2 separate regions of the Homo sapiens genome follow, and region 1 is linked to region 2. Evidence: promoter capture Hi-C in human tissues and cell types (Jung and others, 2019). All regions are on one chromosome and are shown on one strand. The core of a region is centred on a gene start or on the middle of the fragment in contact, and the rest is flanking DNA. Distances in the headings are between cores, read along the strand shown.

Evidence for each region. The method cuts DNA at HindIII sites, captures the fragments that hold promoters and counts their contacts. A contact is called where the count stands out against the background at its distance.
Region 1: a contact is called between a fragment that was not itself captured here and the fragment with the promoter of ZNF320 in region 2, in 1 of the 25 tissues and cell types used here (liver).

Annotation. Positions count from the first base shown.
Region 1 is chr19:52,696,313-52,703,707 of GRCh38, forward strand. ZNF611 (zinc finger protein 611) reads right to left here. Exons shown (of 6, transcript NM_001161499.2): 6 at 6,501-7,395. Among named protein-coding and RNA genes, the nearest start is that of ZNF611, 35 kb to the right of the region's middle. RefSeq lists enhancers at 1-629, 1,441-2,251, 2,252-3,062. The HindIII fragment of the contact is 5,162 bases long and covers 300-5,461 here.
Region 2 is chr19:52,895,831-52,903,223 of GRCh38, forward strand. ZNF320 (zinc finger protein 320) reads right to left here and starts at 1,805. Exons shown (of 6, transcript NM_001351774.2): 1 at 1,690-1,805. RefSeq lists enhancers at 1,340-1,539, 1,740-1,819. The HindIII fragment of the contact is 8,369 bases long and covers 1-4,577 here.

The sequences.
Region 1 (7,395 bases), core at 1,631-4,130, 200 kb before region 2:
TGCAGATGTCAAAGAGCAAGCTAGCCATGTTTACTAACATAACAACATGTAAATTTTCACAACTAGCAGGATGAAATATCAAAGTAAAATATTTACTAAAACACAAAGAAAACAATAGACGCTGGGGTCTAGGTGAGGGTGGAGATGGGGAGGAGAGAGGAGCAGAAAAAATAGCTAATGGGGCTGGGCACAGTGGCTCACGCCTGTAATCCCAGCACTTTGCTAGGGCAAGGGGGTTGGATCACCTGAGGTCAGGAGTTCAAGATCAGCCTGGCCAACATGGTGAAACCCTGTCTCTACTAAAAGTACAAACATTAGCCAGGCATGGAGGCATGTGCTTGTAATCCCAGCTACTCAGGAGGCTGAGGCAGGAGAGTTGCTTGAACCCAGGAGGCAGAGGTTGCAGTGAGCCGAGATCATGCCATCATACTCCAGACTCAAAAAACGAGCAAAACTCAGTGTCAAAAAAAAAAGAAAAGAAAAAAAGCTACTGGGTACTGGGCTTGATACCGGTGTACAACAAACTCCAATGACATGAGTTTGCCTATGTAACAAACCATCACATGTAGCCCCAATCCTAAAGTAAAAACATAACTATAAAACATTTTATTTTTTTAATTTACTACGGAATTATTTTTAAAGTCTCATAATGATGCAGAAATACAGGTGTACAAGACTTGCTCTGACACTTGGCACAGAACTGACAGTAGCGGCTCCCCAGTGAGTTTGGAAAGAGGGTGGAGGACGTGACAGGGAAAGGAGATGCTTTGTGGCAAAGGGTCTGCAGCTTTGCTAAGAGTTTTACTAGAAAACAAATATATCCATCCTGTGATGTTTAAATATCAAAATATATATTTAATAAACATTGGTAGAGCTGAGCACGGTGGCTCGTGCCTGTAATCCCAGCACTCTGGGAGGCTGAGGTGGGTGGATAACCTGAGGTCAGAACTTTGAGGCCACCCTGGCCAACATGGTGAAACCCCATCTCTACTAAAAATACAAAAAAATTAGCCGGGCGTGGTGGCACACGCCTATAACCCCAGCTACTTGGGAGGCTGAGGCAGGAGAATCACTTGAACCCAGAAGACAGAGGTTGCAGTAAACTGAGATCATGTCACTGCACTCCAGCTTGGGTGGCAGAGGCTGACTCCATCTCAAAAAATAAATTGTAACCATTTTTACCAAAAACACCTGTTTCACAAGCCTCTCCACAGTAACCCCACAGTCTCCATGAGCTTAATGTGTTAAGAATGGTTTAATGAATCTCCTGCTATTATTTAGGTTGATTTCCTATTCTTAAACTAATGATGGAATAAAACACCTTCTATCATTCATGTCTGTGTATGAACTTTCCACTCTAATTAGTTCGATTTTTGGAGCCAGAAACACAATAACTCACTCAATTACCTAAAAATGTAGTATGAAAGTGAAGCGGTGGGTTGCCCCTCCACACCTGTGGGTGTTTCTCGTTAGGTGGAATGAGAGACTTGGAAAAGAAAAAGACACAGAGACAAAGTGTAGAGAAAGAAATAAGGGGGCCCAGGGGACCAGGGTTCAGCATATGGAGGATCCCGCCAGCCTCTGAGTTCCCTTCATATTTATTGATCATTTTGGGGTGTTTCTCAGAGAGGGGGATGTGGCAGGGTCATAGGATAATAGTGGAGAGAAGGTCAGCAGATAAACACGTGAACAAAGGTCTCTGCATCATAGACAAGGTAAAAAATCAAGTGCTGTGCTTTAGATATGCATACACATAAACATCTCAATGCCTTACAGAGCAGTATTGCTGCCCGCATGTCCCACCTCCAGCCCTAAGGTGGTTTTCCCCTATCTCAGTAGATGGAACATACAATCGGGTTTTATACCGAGACATTCCATTGCCCAGGGACGGGCAGGAGACGGATGCCTTCCTCTTGTCTCAATTGCAAGAGGCGTGCCTTCCTCTTATACTAATCCTCCTCAGCACAGACCCTTTACGGGTGTCGGGCTGGGAGACGGTCAGGTCTTTCCCTTCCCATGAGGCCATATTTCAGACTATCACATGGGGAGAAACCTTGGACAATACCTGGCTTTCCTAGGCAGAGGTCCCTGCGGCCTTCCGCAGTGTTTGTGTCTCTGGGTACTTAAGATTAGGGAGTGGTGATGACTCTTAAGGAGCATGCTGCCTTCAAGCGTCTGTTTAACAAAGCACATCTTGCACCGCCCTTAATCCATTTAACCCTGAGTGGACACAGCACATGTTTCAGAGAGCATGGGGTTGGGGGTAAGGTCATAGATTAACAGCATCTCAAGGCAGAAGAATTTGTCTTAGTACAGAACAAAATGGAGTCTCCTATGTCTACTTCTTTCTACACAGACACAGTAACAATCTGATCTCTCTTTCTTTTCCCCACATGAAAGCAGGCAGAAAAGATTTTCACTTATTGGTTTCCTTTTCTAGAATTTACCACGTACTTTGTGCACATTAATACGTGACTTCCATTGGCAGCTGCTCTAATCCTGCTCCACAGAGAGCTGACAGTGCATCCATATGTGGCCCCTGAACAATCCCTTCTGCCCAACAGCACTGACACCACGGGACCCTCACCCCGTCTCCATCCATGTCTGGGTGTGAGCCCTTCCCAGGCCCATGCCCAGTGCAGCCTCTTTCCAACTTCATGTCACTAGGTCACCAGAGATGGAATCTAAGCGAGATGAGAGGGACTGAGGGAAGGCATGGGTGAGTGTGAGTAAACGTATCAGGCAGGAAGCTTCAGACTCAGAGAAGATTCCCAACTCCAAGGCCCAGGGTTTCTGAAAGGAAGGAGACAGAACAATCCACCGAGAATATCATCTCACCTGAGGAAGAGCCATCCCTGACTCCTTTGCTTTCCTCTTCCTCTTCCGGGTTTCTTCCTCATGTACCAAGAGTCTTTAGGAGTCAATCCTGAATGTTAAAAATATGTTGTTTGTTGCTCAGAATCAACACACCCCCTCCCTGGAACACAACCACACATGCGAAGTGTCACGCACGTCTGTGGGAAGAGGCCACCAAACACGCTTTGTGTGAGCAACGAGGCTGTTTATTTCACCTGGGTGCAGCCGGGCTGAGTCTGGAAAGAGAGTCAGCAAAGTGTGGTGGGATTATCATTAGTTCTCATAGGTTTTGGGACAGGCGGTGGAGTTAGGGGCAATGCTTTGCAGGCAGGGGGTGGATCTCACCAAGTCCATTCTCAAGGGTGGGGAGGATTACAAAGAGCCTTCTGAAGGGTGGGGGAGATTACAAAGCACATTGATCAGTCAGGGTAGGGCAGAAACAAATCACAATATTGGAATGTCATCAGTTAAGGATATTTTTACAGTTGCTTCAGGCTATCTGGATGTATACGTGCAGGTCACAGGGGATATGATGGCTTAGCTTGGGCTCAGAGGCCTAACTAAAGACCTCACCCTGAGGAAATAGTGCCCCCTGCTGCCCTCCTCACCATGGATGATAAACTCCTACAGGGAAACTCCCGCTCCCCTTCTGGAGGAGTCCACACACAAGCTGCAGCAGTGGGGAGCTGGGCTGGAATGAGCTCCCCTTCAGGGCACAGACCCAGCCCTGACGAAACCCCACGCAGAGGCTGGGTGCGGTGGCTCATGCCTGTCATCCCAGCACTCTAGGAGGCTGTGGCAGGTAGATCGCTTGAACTCAGGAGTTTGAGAACAGCCTGAGCAACATGGTGAAACCCCATCTCTACCAAAAATACAAAACTTCGCCAGGTATGGTGGTGCACGTCTGTGTGTCTGTGGTCCCAGCTACTTAGGAGGCATAGGTGGGAGGATCACTTGACCTGAGGAGTTTGAGAGCAGCCTGGCCAACATGGTGAAACCCTGTATCTACTAAAAATACAAAAATGGGCCGGGCGTGTGGGTCATCCGGTAATCCTAGCACTCTGGAAGGCCGAGGTGTGCTGATTACTTGAGGTCAGGAGATCGAGACCAGCCTGGCCAACATGGTGAAACGCTGTCTCTACTAAATACACAAAAAGTAGCCGGGCTTGGTAAGTGTCTGTAATCTCTGCTATTCAGGAGACTGAGGTAGGAGAATTGCTTGAACCCGGGAGGTGGAGGTCGCAGTGAGCCGAGATGGCGCCACTACACTCCAGTCTTGGTGACAGACAGACTCAAAAATAATATAAAATGGAAGTTAAAATACAAAAATTAGCCGGGTGTGGTGGCAGACACACCAGCTACTTGGGAGGCTGAGGCACCAGAATTGCTTGAACCCAGCAGACAGAGGTTGCAGTGAGCCAAGATCAAGAGGCTGCACTCATAGGCTGAAAGATAGAGTGACTCTGTCTCAAAAAAAAAAAAAAAAAAAAAATGCATTTCTGATGTGATTGATGCAGACAATGAATCCTGAGTAACGTGATACAGACTGATGGACAAGGGAACTACAGCCGGGGGTGGGAGGGCATGGGCGACAGCTCTGAGCCTAGACCTGAAGGAGGAGAAAGTGACAGGGTACGTAGGGTAAAACCAGGGACAACGACCTGAGACAGGAAGGGTTTTGATGTTTGGGAAAAGAGAAAAGCAAATATGACTGGGGCGGAGAGAGTCATGAGATGAGGGCAAGCTCCCAGGAGGAGGCTGGACAGTGGAAGGGGCCCTGGACACAGGGCTGTGGAGCCACAGTGAGGGGTTGGGCTTTTGTCCTGGGGAACACGGGAAGCTGGTGGAGGGTTCCCTGTCAGGGACTGACATGACCTGCTTTAGATTTTGTTGTGATGTCCTCATACAGAGAAAGGCCCCGAAGATGGTCTCTGTGTCTGAGTCTACCTCTGTTTCTTCCATTCTTCTGCTTTTGTTTTTCATTTTTAGGGCACTGCATCCCATTGAAAATTCTAATCACAACTGGGCACTCCTCTCCTCAAAAAAATTTAAAAAAAAAGCCACACCCACACACGCACTCCATTTTGTCAATCATTTCAGGGGTCAAAGTCACTAGGGTTGAGCTTTTCTGGTGTAGCCCCTCATCGCCAAGTTCCAAGGAGGCTCACTGGGGCTCAGATTGGAAGACATTTTCACCAAGTTGCCCTGAGAAGGTCTGAGATGAGTGAGGTGTGCCTGAATTCTTACATGGGGGCCTGCAGGGACTAATGGGAAGGGTTGATCTTATCACCCCCATCCTGGAAAATTAGAGAAGGCTCTTTCACAAACCTGGGCTAAAGAAATTTCTTTTGCCGGGCACGGTGGCTCAAGCCTGTAATCCCAGCACTTTGGGAGGCTGAGGCGGGTGGATCACCTGAGGTCAGGAGTTTGAGGCCAGCCTGACCAACACGGAGAAACCCCGTCTCTATAAAAATACAAAATTAGCTAGGAGTGGTAGTGCATGCCTCTAATCCCAGGTACTTGGGAGGCTAAGGAAGGAGAATCACTTGAACCCGGGAGACGGAGGTTGCAGTGAGCCGAGATCGTGCCACTGCACTCAAGCCTGGGGGACAAGAGCGAAACTCCGTCTCCAAAAAAAAAAAAGAAAAGAAAAAAAAGAAACAAACTTCTTTTGCAAGGTTCTGAGGCCATTGACTCCTGACAGTTTGTTCTTCCTTACAAGAAAATCACAGTAACATTTATAAAATGCAGAGTTGTGAACACATAGCTATTGACCTTGGAAACAGGGAAAGAAGGTCAGGTGTACAACTAAGACATAAGCAAATTGTTTCAATCAAGAATACATGAGTGGTCAGGCACGGTGGCTCACGCCTGTAATCCCAGCACTTTGGGAGGTCGAGGTGGGCAGATCACCAGAAGTCAGTAGTTTGAGACCAGCCTGGCCAACACAGTGAGAGCCTGTCTCTACTGACAATGCAAAAACCTAGCCAGGAGTGGTGGAGGGCACCTGTAATCCCAACTACTTGGTAGGCTGAGGCAGGAGAATCACTTGAACCCAGGAGGCAGACGTTGTAGTGACACCAGATCGCACCATTGCAGTCCAGCCTGGGCAACAAGAGCAAAACTCCATCTCAAAAAAAAACCCCCAAAAAAACAAAAAGAAAAACAAAAAAAAAACCGAGGCTGGGAGCAGTGGCTCACACCTGTAATCTCATCACATTGGGAGGCCAAGTCGGGTGGATCACAAGGTCAGGATTTGAGACCAGCCTGACAAACGTGATGAAACCCCGTCTCTACTAAAAATACAAAAATTAGCCAGGCATGCTGGTGGGTGCCTGTAATTCCAGCTACTCAGGAGACTGAGGCAGGAGCATCACTTGATCCCAGGAGGCAGAGGTTGCAGTGAGCTGAGATTGCACCACTGCCCTCCATCCAAGGCGACAGAGCAAGATTCCATTTCAAAAAAGAAAAGAAAAGAATACACGGGTGCTTTTGGAGGAGCGTTCTATGCCAATCCAGCCCATGTTTCAACATTTTTCCAGAATGGACCAGAGGGCCTTGAGGGAAACACGCAATAAATAGCTCCCAGATCAAGATTTTAACAAAGGACATAAGGAAAGAAAACTGAAAAACAGACTAACTGGTTAAAGTACATTTTGATGTTTAGTTAAAAGGCCACTGACATATTTACCAAGTACACACTGAAACAATCAAACTTAAGTTTAGGTACCAAAGGTTTTCAATAAATAACAAAGACTAGAAAGCATGCAGACATTGATATGAACTGGATGCAACTAATTTAAAACAGCAACTATTTTGAAATTGTTTTTTAAAAAAATCTAACGAATTCTGGGGTCAACCGGAAAATAACTGGAAAATATACAAGTACAGAAACGAATGATGTGAGCTGATTATAGGATGCTGCAAAGGCATCTTTCAGAAGTCATTATGTATTAAGAAATACAACTTTTATAACTTAGATTTATCTCAAACTCAAACTGCAAAATAAATAAATAAATAAATAAAAAATAAAGAGAGAAATGAAGAGGAACCAGAAAGAAAAAGAAGGAAGTCCATTATACGAGAAGAAAAGCATTTTTGAGGTCTTTTTTTGTTATTTTTTGTTTGTTTGAGATGGAGACTCACTCTGCCACCCAGGCTGCAGTATAGTGGCACAATTTTGGTTCACTGCAACTTCTACCTCCTAGGTTTAAGCAATTCTCATGCCCCAGCCTCCCAAGTAGCTGGAACTAAAGGTGCACACCAACACCCCCGGCTAACTTTTGTATTTTTAGTAGAGATGGGGTTTCACCATGTTAGGGTGCTTTTGAAATTGTGACCTTAGGTGACCAGTTCACATGGGTCGACCAAAGTACTCTGATTGCAGGGATGAGCCACCACGTACCGAGGCTTTGATATCCTTTTTTTTTTTTTTTTTTTTGAGATAGACTCTCACTCTGTCGCCCAGGCTGGAGCCCAGTGGTGCGATCTCGACTCCCTGCAAGCTCCGCCTCACAGGTTCATGCCATTCTCCTGCCT
Region 2 (7,393 bases), core at 555-3,054:
AAAGAAACAACCTAAAATCATTTATCAGGTACTAGTAAATGCTTCCAATATATGATACAGACTAGAAAGCATGCAGTCTTCTATGTAAACTGAACACAACAAATTTCATAGAGAAACTTTTAAAATGGTTAAAAATATATACATCTAAAAATGTATATATCTAATAAAATGTAGGGTCAAAGAAGAAAATTTTGAACTCATATCATAGTTGGAAAACAATGATGTGAGCTCATAAGATTCTACCAAAGCTTATTTGAAAAGTAGTTATCTTACTTTTTTCAGACGGAGTCTCGCTCTGTCACCCCAGGCTGGAGTGCAGTGGCATGATCTCAGCTCACTGCAACCTCCCCCTCCCTGTCCAAGGGATTCTGCTGCCTCAGCCTCCTGAGTAGCTGGGATTACAGGCGCCCGACATCACACCTGGCTAATTTCTGTATTTTATTCGACACGAGATTTCGCCATGTTGACTAGGCTGGTCTCGAACTCCTGACCTCAGGTGATCTGCCCGCCTTGGCCTCCCAAAGTGCTGGGATTACAGGCATGAGCCATTGCACACGGCCTTTATTTTTATTTATTTATTTTTTAATTAAGAAACAAGGCGGGCATGGTGGCTCATGCCTGTAATTCCAGCATTTTGGGAGGGCGATACAGCTGGATCGCTTGAGCCCTGGAGTTGGAGACCAGCCTGAGCAACAAGGCAAAAGCCCGTCTCTACCAAGTACACAAAAATTAGCGCGGTGTGGTGGCGCGCGGCTGTGGTCCCAGCTACTCTGCAGGCTGAGGTGACAGGATCGCTTGAGCATAGGATGTTGATGATGCAGTGAGCTGTGATCCTGTCACCGCTCTCCCGCCTGGGCAACAGAGTGAGACCCCATCTCCAATAAAAAAGAATAAAAAAGAAATACCTGGGTCCTGGGTCTGGGGGCAGCGAATCTAAGGCCAATTAAGGCAAACTTTCTAAAACTAGACAAAAAGGAAAAACCCCATCTCCCCATCCGGAGTAACAAAGGATCAAAGGCCGCTGTCCCTACCGCCCTCCTCCTTCCACCACGTCTCAGAAAGGGAAAGAGCCCAGGAGTGGCCATGGCCAAGCACCGGCCACACCTTCATCTGCATAGGGCACCCATCTGCTCCGGCCTCGGGCCAATTCACCTCAGCATTTCGTTGGCCAAGGGCCAAAAATCCTTCATCCAGATAAGGGGTAGCCCATAGGGACCTCAAAATAAATACTTTAACCCCCTAAAACTTTCTAAACGGGTCCCCGGAGACGCTGGCTCGGGCCCACTCCCCTCTGTGGAGTGCTTTCTTGATTGCATATATTCGTTTTCCAGGAGTTGGAACTAGGTAGCAACACCGCACAAGGAGGGAGGTGGGGAGCGACGGAGCCTTCGGACAGGGGTGGCGTCTGCAGGATCTTAGGACCAGGCAGAGGACGCGGCCTCCCGGGAACCGGGGTTGAGGCGCGGCGCTCCTGAAGCCGCCGAGAGCGACGGTGGGAGGCGCCTAGGGCTGGAATCCAGCTCGCGGGTGAGGACTTGAAACAGCGCGAGGCGGGAGGACAGGTCAGGAAGGGTTTTGAGAAGGAAAATTCCGCGATAGGAGGTGTCTGCACGACCCCACTGCAGAAAGACCGAGGACGGGACCTGCCTCAGGGCCACTTTAAACTCGAAGGGACTCACGGACTCTCACCCGGACGTCTCAATTTGCTCTGGGTTGAGAAAGAGGGGCCGCAATTTCCAGGTCTGTGGGGACTCAACGTCCCCGGTATAGCAGCACCACAGGACTGGGAAGCACACATAAAACAGAGCGAAACTCACGCGCTGTGGTGTGACCTTCAGTCCCTGCCATCCGCTTCCGGGTCTATGCCAATCAGCGCAGGACAGAGGCCAGGCCTGGGCGGGACCCCCGAGAAGGTAGGCGGGGCCTGGACTAGGCCGGGATGAGACGCGAAGAGGTGGGCGGGGCCTGAACAAGGCCGGGGCGGGGTTGAGAAACAAGGGGCCTGGCTGGGAGAAGAGTCCTGGGCTATGAGGGGTCGGCGGGGGCGAGAAGCGGGTGGGTCCTGAGCTTTCCTCCATCTCGCTCTCTGCGCCTTTTTTCCAGGTTTTGGAGGCGAAAGCCGCCAGTGAGGCTGGAGCAGCTCAGCAGTCATTGAAATAGTACCTCCCTGAGAAGTCAACGTGAGGCGGTCATTGGACCCAGGAAAGTTCCTTGCTATTGAAATTAATTTTAGCAATTTATGTCCAAAATCTGGAAGTTGTCAAGGGAAGGAATGCAAACTAGAATGCGAAATACAAAGCTCTGCCTCAGCGAAACCTCCAATTTCCTGCTGACGGCCCACAGAACAGAATAGCAAATCCTCTCCCTTTCTATTTTCCATTCACTGGGGTGGGAGAATCCACCCTGTGCTCAGCTCCAGAGACTTCCTCAGGGCCACCGCCTGGGGTGCGGAGCGGAGGCCTCAGGCCAGGGAGGAGTGAGGTCACCACCTCCTGCTTAAACACAGCAGGGATGTGGGCGAGGTGGCGAGTCTGGGGTCCCGGCTACTCAGGAAGCAGGAGCCGCAAGACCGCTGAGCCCGGAGGTCCAGGCCAGCGTGGGCGACAAAGTAAGACCCTCTACCCCAGAGCTCCTTCCTCCGCCTCAATAAGAAAAAAAGGGATTTTTAAAAAAAGCATTGACATTGTAACAGTGTGTAGCAGGGCTAGCGGCAGACAAAACTTCTCAGACACTGAGTTGTAGAAGGAAGGGCTTTATTCAGCTGGGAGCGTCAGCAATCTACTGCCTTGAAATCCGAGCTCCCTGAATGCACAATTTCTGTCCTTTTTAAGGGTTCACAACACTAAAGATTTCACATGAAAGGGTCGTGATTGATTTGAGCGAGCAGGCGGTACGTGACAGGGGATGCATGCACCGGTGGTCAGAGAGAAACAGAACAGAGCGGGGAGTTTTACAATGTTCTTCTATACAATGTCTGGAATCTATGAATAACATTGGGTTCTAAGCCATAAGTTGATTTTTAACTACTGGGTTTAGGCCAGGCAGGCCCAGGCCTGGTTTCGGGCCTGGCCCCGGGGCTGCCTGTCTTTGGTTTTACTTTCTTGTTGTTTTTTCTTAAAACAGGTACTGAGTATAAAACAATATGAGAGGGTCTCTGTCTTCCTTTATTTCTTCTTTTTGAGAGTCTCACTTTTTATTAGTGGGAGTTCTTACTCTTGTTTTTGCTACTTATGTCTTTTTGTGTAATAGATTGATAGTGATTCATATAGTACACTTGTGCTGAATCATTTTGGTGAACTAAGGTAGCGATGAAGCTTTTTATCATTTGAAGAGGTACAGGTAGCAAACAAGAGAGCAGTAAGCAGCTTTTTATTACTATTATAACTCTTATTATAAGAGTTTTAAATCCTCCTATTGCTGGGAACTAATTTTTAAACATGGCTCCTGGATTGAGTCCGTGCCACACCTGTACGGGTACATGTGTCAGTTTTGTTATATTTTTAACTATGTCTTCAACTACTTTCCTCTGATGATCTATGTGTAGACAACAATTAGTAAGGTTAAATTTTCTACAAACTTTTCCTTCAGCTGCTAGCAAGTAGTCGAGAGCTAGTCTATTTTGATAGATAGCATTTCTTTTTCTTTTTTTGGTGATGGAGTCTCGCTCTGTCACCCAGGCTGGAGTGCAGTGGTGCAGTCTCAGCTCACTGCAAGCTCCACCTCCCGGGTTCACGCCATTCTCCTGCCTCAGCCTCCCTAGTAGCTGGGACTACAGGTGCTGCCACCGCACCCGGCTAATTTTTTGTATTTTTAGTAGAGACGGGGTTTCACTGTGTTAGCCAGGATGGTCTTGATCTCCTGACTTTGTGATCTGCCCGCCTCAGTCTCCCAAAGTGCTGGGATTACAGGCGTGAGCCACCGCGCCCGGTGATAGATAGCATTTCTTATCAGAGTCTCTTGCCGGGCAAGAACAGTCAAGGCTTGACCGGTTTTATTAGTAATAATTTTTAAAACAGCTTGCAACTGTATGATTCGGTTGAGCATGTAGATGGGGGTTCGATAACCTCATGAGCTGTCTTGTGTCTAAGTGGCAGGCTTACAGTATTATATAATTCTTTAGGAGGTCATTTATCATCTTTCTAATTACCTATGGCTATGCTTCGTTTTTCACAGGAAGCATAGACTGGGAAGCCTAGAAGTTCACCTGTATTTATGGGCAGTAAGAGGAAAGATGGCTTACTGGTGCCAATTACACAGCTACCTGTCCACTGATCAGGCAGCTTAGCATGAGCTCTGTCTATGTATCTGGTATAACCTGGTGGGGGCCGTCTAGTCCTGGTGGAATTCCGGGTGGGCCTCAACAGTCTGCAACTTTGGAAATTTACTGAATGGATTTCTTTTTGTGTAACTGGAACTTTAGTATGTAACTGTTTTTGTGGTACTATTATACAACTTTTGCCTAAGACAACTAAGCCGCCTTACAGGATGATGAGTGAATTTTTTTCTTTCTCTAGCTATGCAATACCGTCTAATAATTGAGACTTTTAGAACTTAAAAATTGTCAGGGTGGTTCTTTTGGGCTGGGAATTCATCAGGAACTGGGTTTGTAGGAACTAATTCTCGGGCTTCCTATGGCCATTGATCTCTTGTTACAGTTCTTCTACAAACATAACATGAGGTGACTTGTAGAGACTGGGCCTCATGTTAGGCTAATTGCAAAAACAAATTTTTAGTTTTTCCTGGAATCTTAGGTACTGGCACATTTATTTCATCATAGAAAGCCTGAAATACTGGTTCTGGAGAGCATTTTTCAACTTCTTTTTTTATTAGGATGTTTACGCTAGGATCTAGTTTTTTTTCATCAATGCTTAATTTACATTTTTTTTTTAATTGTACTTTGGGTCTGATGGGTTTGTGATTATCAATTTTAAAAGGCTGCAGCCCCCACTCATGCAAGAGGGGCTGACTTTTCTTTTTTGGAGCTAAACAGGATTATTTTTATCTTCTTTTTAAGTAGCCCAAATGACATAAGACTAGTATTGACACATCTCACATAAATATGATTCTTGACAGATATACTTATTTTTTTTTTTAACTGTGTAACTTTTTTTCTAATTTAGAGAACTGCATCTTATTCTATGCTGCTTACTATCAATAGTGGCACAAGCATCAAATTTTAAGGTTATATTTTTGGGGACCCCTCTTCTGTTCTAGCTATTATTTTACTTGTGTCACTTAGAAAAAGACTAGTCTTTAATTTTATTTTAAAAACTGTAATCATGGGAGGCTTAAAATGGGTTATAACACACATCAGGTTGGTTATTCCTTGGGCTACATACTTTGGATAGAATAGCATTATACAAACAAATTTCTTTTAGAATCCTGGTACACTTATAATAACTATAAAATAATAGGACTGTAGCAATCTTTTGTCTAACTTCAGTGACTTGATGTAGATACTGGAAACAGTTCTTTGTCTGAGGAAGGTCAGTTGAAGTCCTTACTGTACAAGTCTAAATTTTAAGGAAAATGAGTCCTGCGATGAGTTTCTTCCTGCTTCAGTCGTGCGTGGACCAGTCAGCTTCCGGGTGTGACTGCAGCAGGGCTTGTCATCTTCTTCAGAGTCACTTTGCAGGGGTTGGCGAAGCTGCTCTTATCTACGTACAGCTCCTAGTCTACTGATGTTTAAGGGTGGTCTCAGAGGTTGGGCCCACTAGAATAAACTGAGTCCAGCACCTCTAAACAGTTATGTTTAACTGGGCTCTTTGATACTAGGAGTAAGGTGGCGGGGTTAGGGTGTTGCAAACTTCAATGGTTATGTGGGGATTTTCACAGAGCAAGCTTTGGTATCTAGTTAGTCTAGCGTTTATTAGCTAATGATGTCTTTTGTTATTTATTAAAGGGACTTTATGTTTATGTTTTGCCTAAGAGTTAGCTTATCTGCTTCTTGTGCTAACAGGGCCATTGCTGCCAGGGCCCTTGGACATGGGGGCCAGCCTTGGGAAACCTCGTCTAGTTGTTTTGAGAGTCAGGCTACTGGCCTTGGCCAGGGCCTTACAGTCTGGGTTAAAACTTCAACTGCCATTTTTTTTTTTCTTTCTGACACATAGAGTGCAAAGAGTTTTGTCAGGTCAGGTAGCCTCAGGGCTGGGGCTGACATGAGTTTTTCTTTTTTTTTTTTCTGGTTGATGAAATACCAGGGTGAAATGGACTAAACCATAAGTGCCACTCTAGTTATTCGGCAGAGTGCCTACTAAAGGTCTACTACAATACCACCACACATCTGCTCAGAGATGAACAAGGGCTGACCGATTGATAAGCTCTTGAAAATTCTTAAGCTCACTGCATCCTTTCAGGTCTCCAAGGAATGCTAAATCTCCTCTCTGCCGTGAGATACAAGAAGTGAACTTAGTATTGGGAGACGGAAGCTGGAAGGCCCTCGGGGGCTGATCCGCAGGGACTTCGGGATATAGCAGAGAGAGCTATATGTTACTCCAGGCTGTAGAATCCTGGAAAAGAGCTACCATGCAGCCCACACCTGGTCAACTACAGGACCACCTTAGTGGAAGGGGGACAATCAGGGCCTCTGGCCTGCCATGTGCACAAGCATAACAATTGCTTTTGTTTAATGTGCAGATGGAATATTTGATCTATTTCAACCAGGCATTTGCATCTTGGTATGCTGTCTCAATTGCCAAAGTTTGTTTTAAGTCTTTAACTTCTATCATCCTCTAGTAAAATGAATGCTTCCTTTAGCACCGATTTTTATTAGTTTTTAGACCAAAGAAAGCTGAACACCATTTTATATTTAATAATGCTTCTTGTATGATTTTTATACCAGATAAGCTAAATTTTACTTTTATATTAGTGTGTTACTAATGTTAAATTTAATTTTAATGAAACTTTGTAGACATATTTATCTAATTTTTCATGTTTGACCATAAGGTTAGATTTTGTAGACTCTTTTTAACTTTTTGTAATTTTTGTTAAAGAGCAGGTTGATGCTTTAAGAAAAAACCTGTTGCATTTTTACTTTGATGTCCGTTTCACAGAAAAACTGGATGATACCTTTTTAACTTTAGCTAATATGTTTACACACAGAATTTTCTTTACAATTAATGTTTTAAAACTTGCTTAAACTTTCAAACAATAATTTTTTTAACTTTTTAATATAGGTAAAAATCCACATTCTTATGCCTCCTTATAATCTTTTTACTATAGGTATATTTTACTTTTCTTATACACCTTGTACATAAACTGTTTCTTCAATAATAGGAGGCCTTATTACTTTTAAATTATACATTTTTTGCATAAAAAAATTTTTTAAAGCAAACTTTATGTCTTTGGACTAGACTGTCTAAGGCTACCAGATTAGAAGTTACTATAATACATG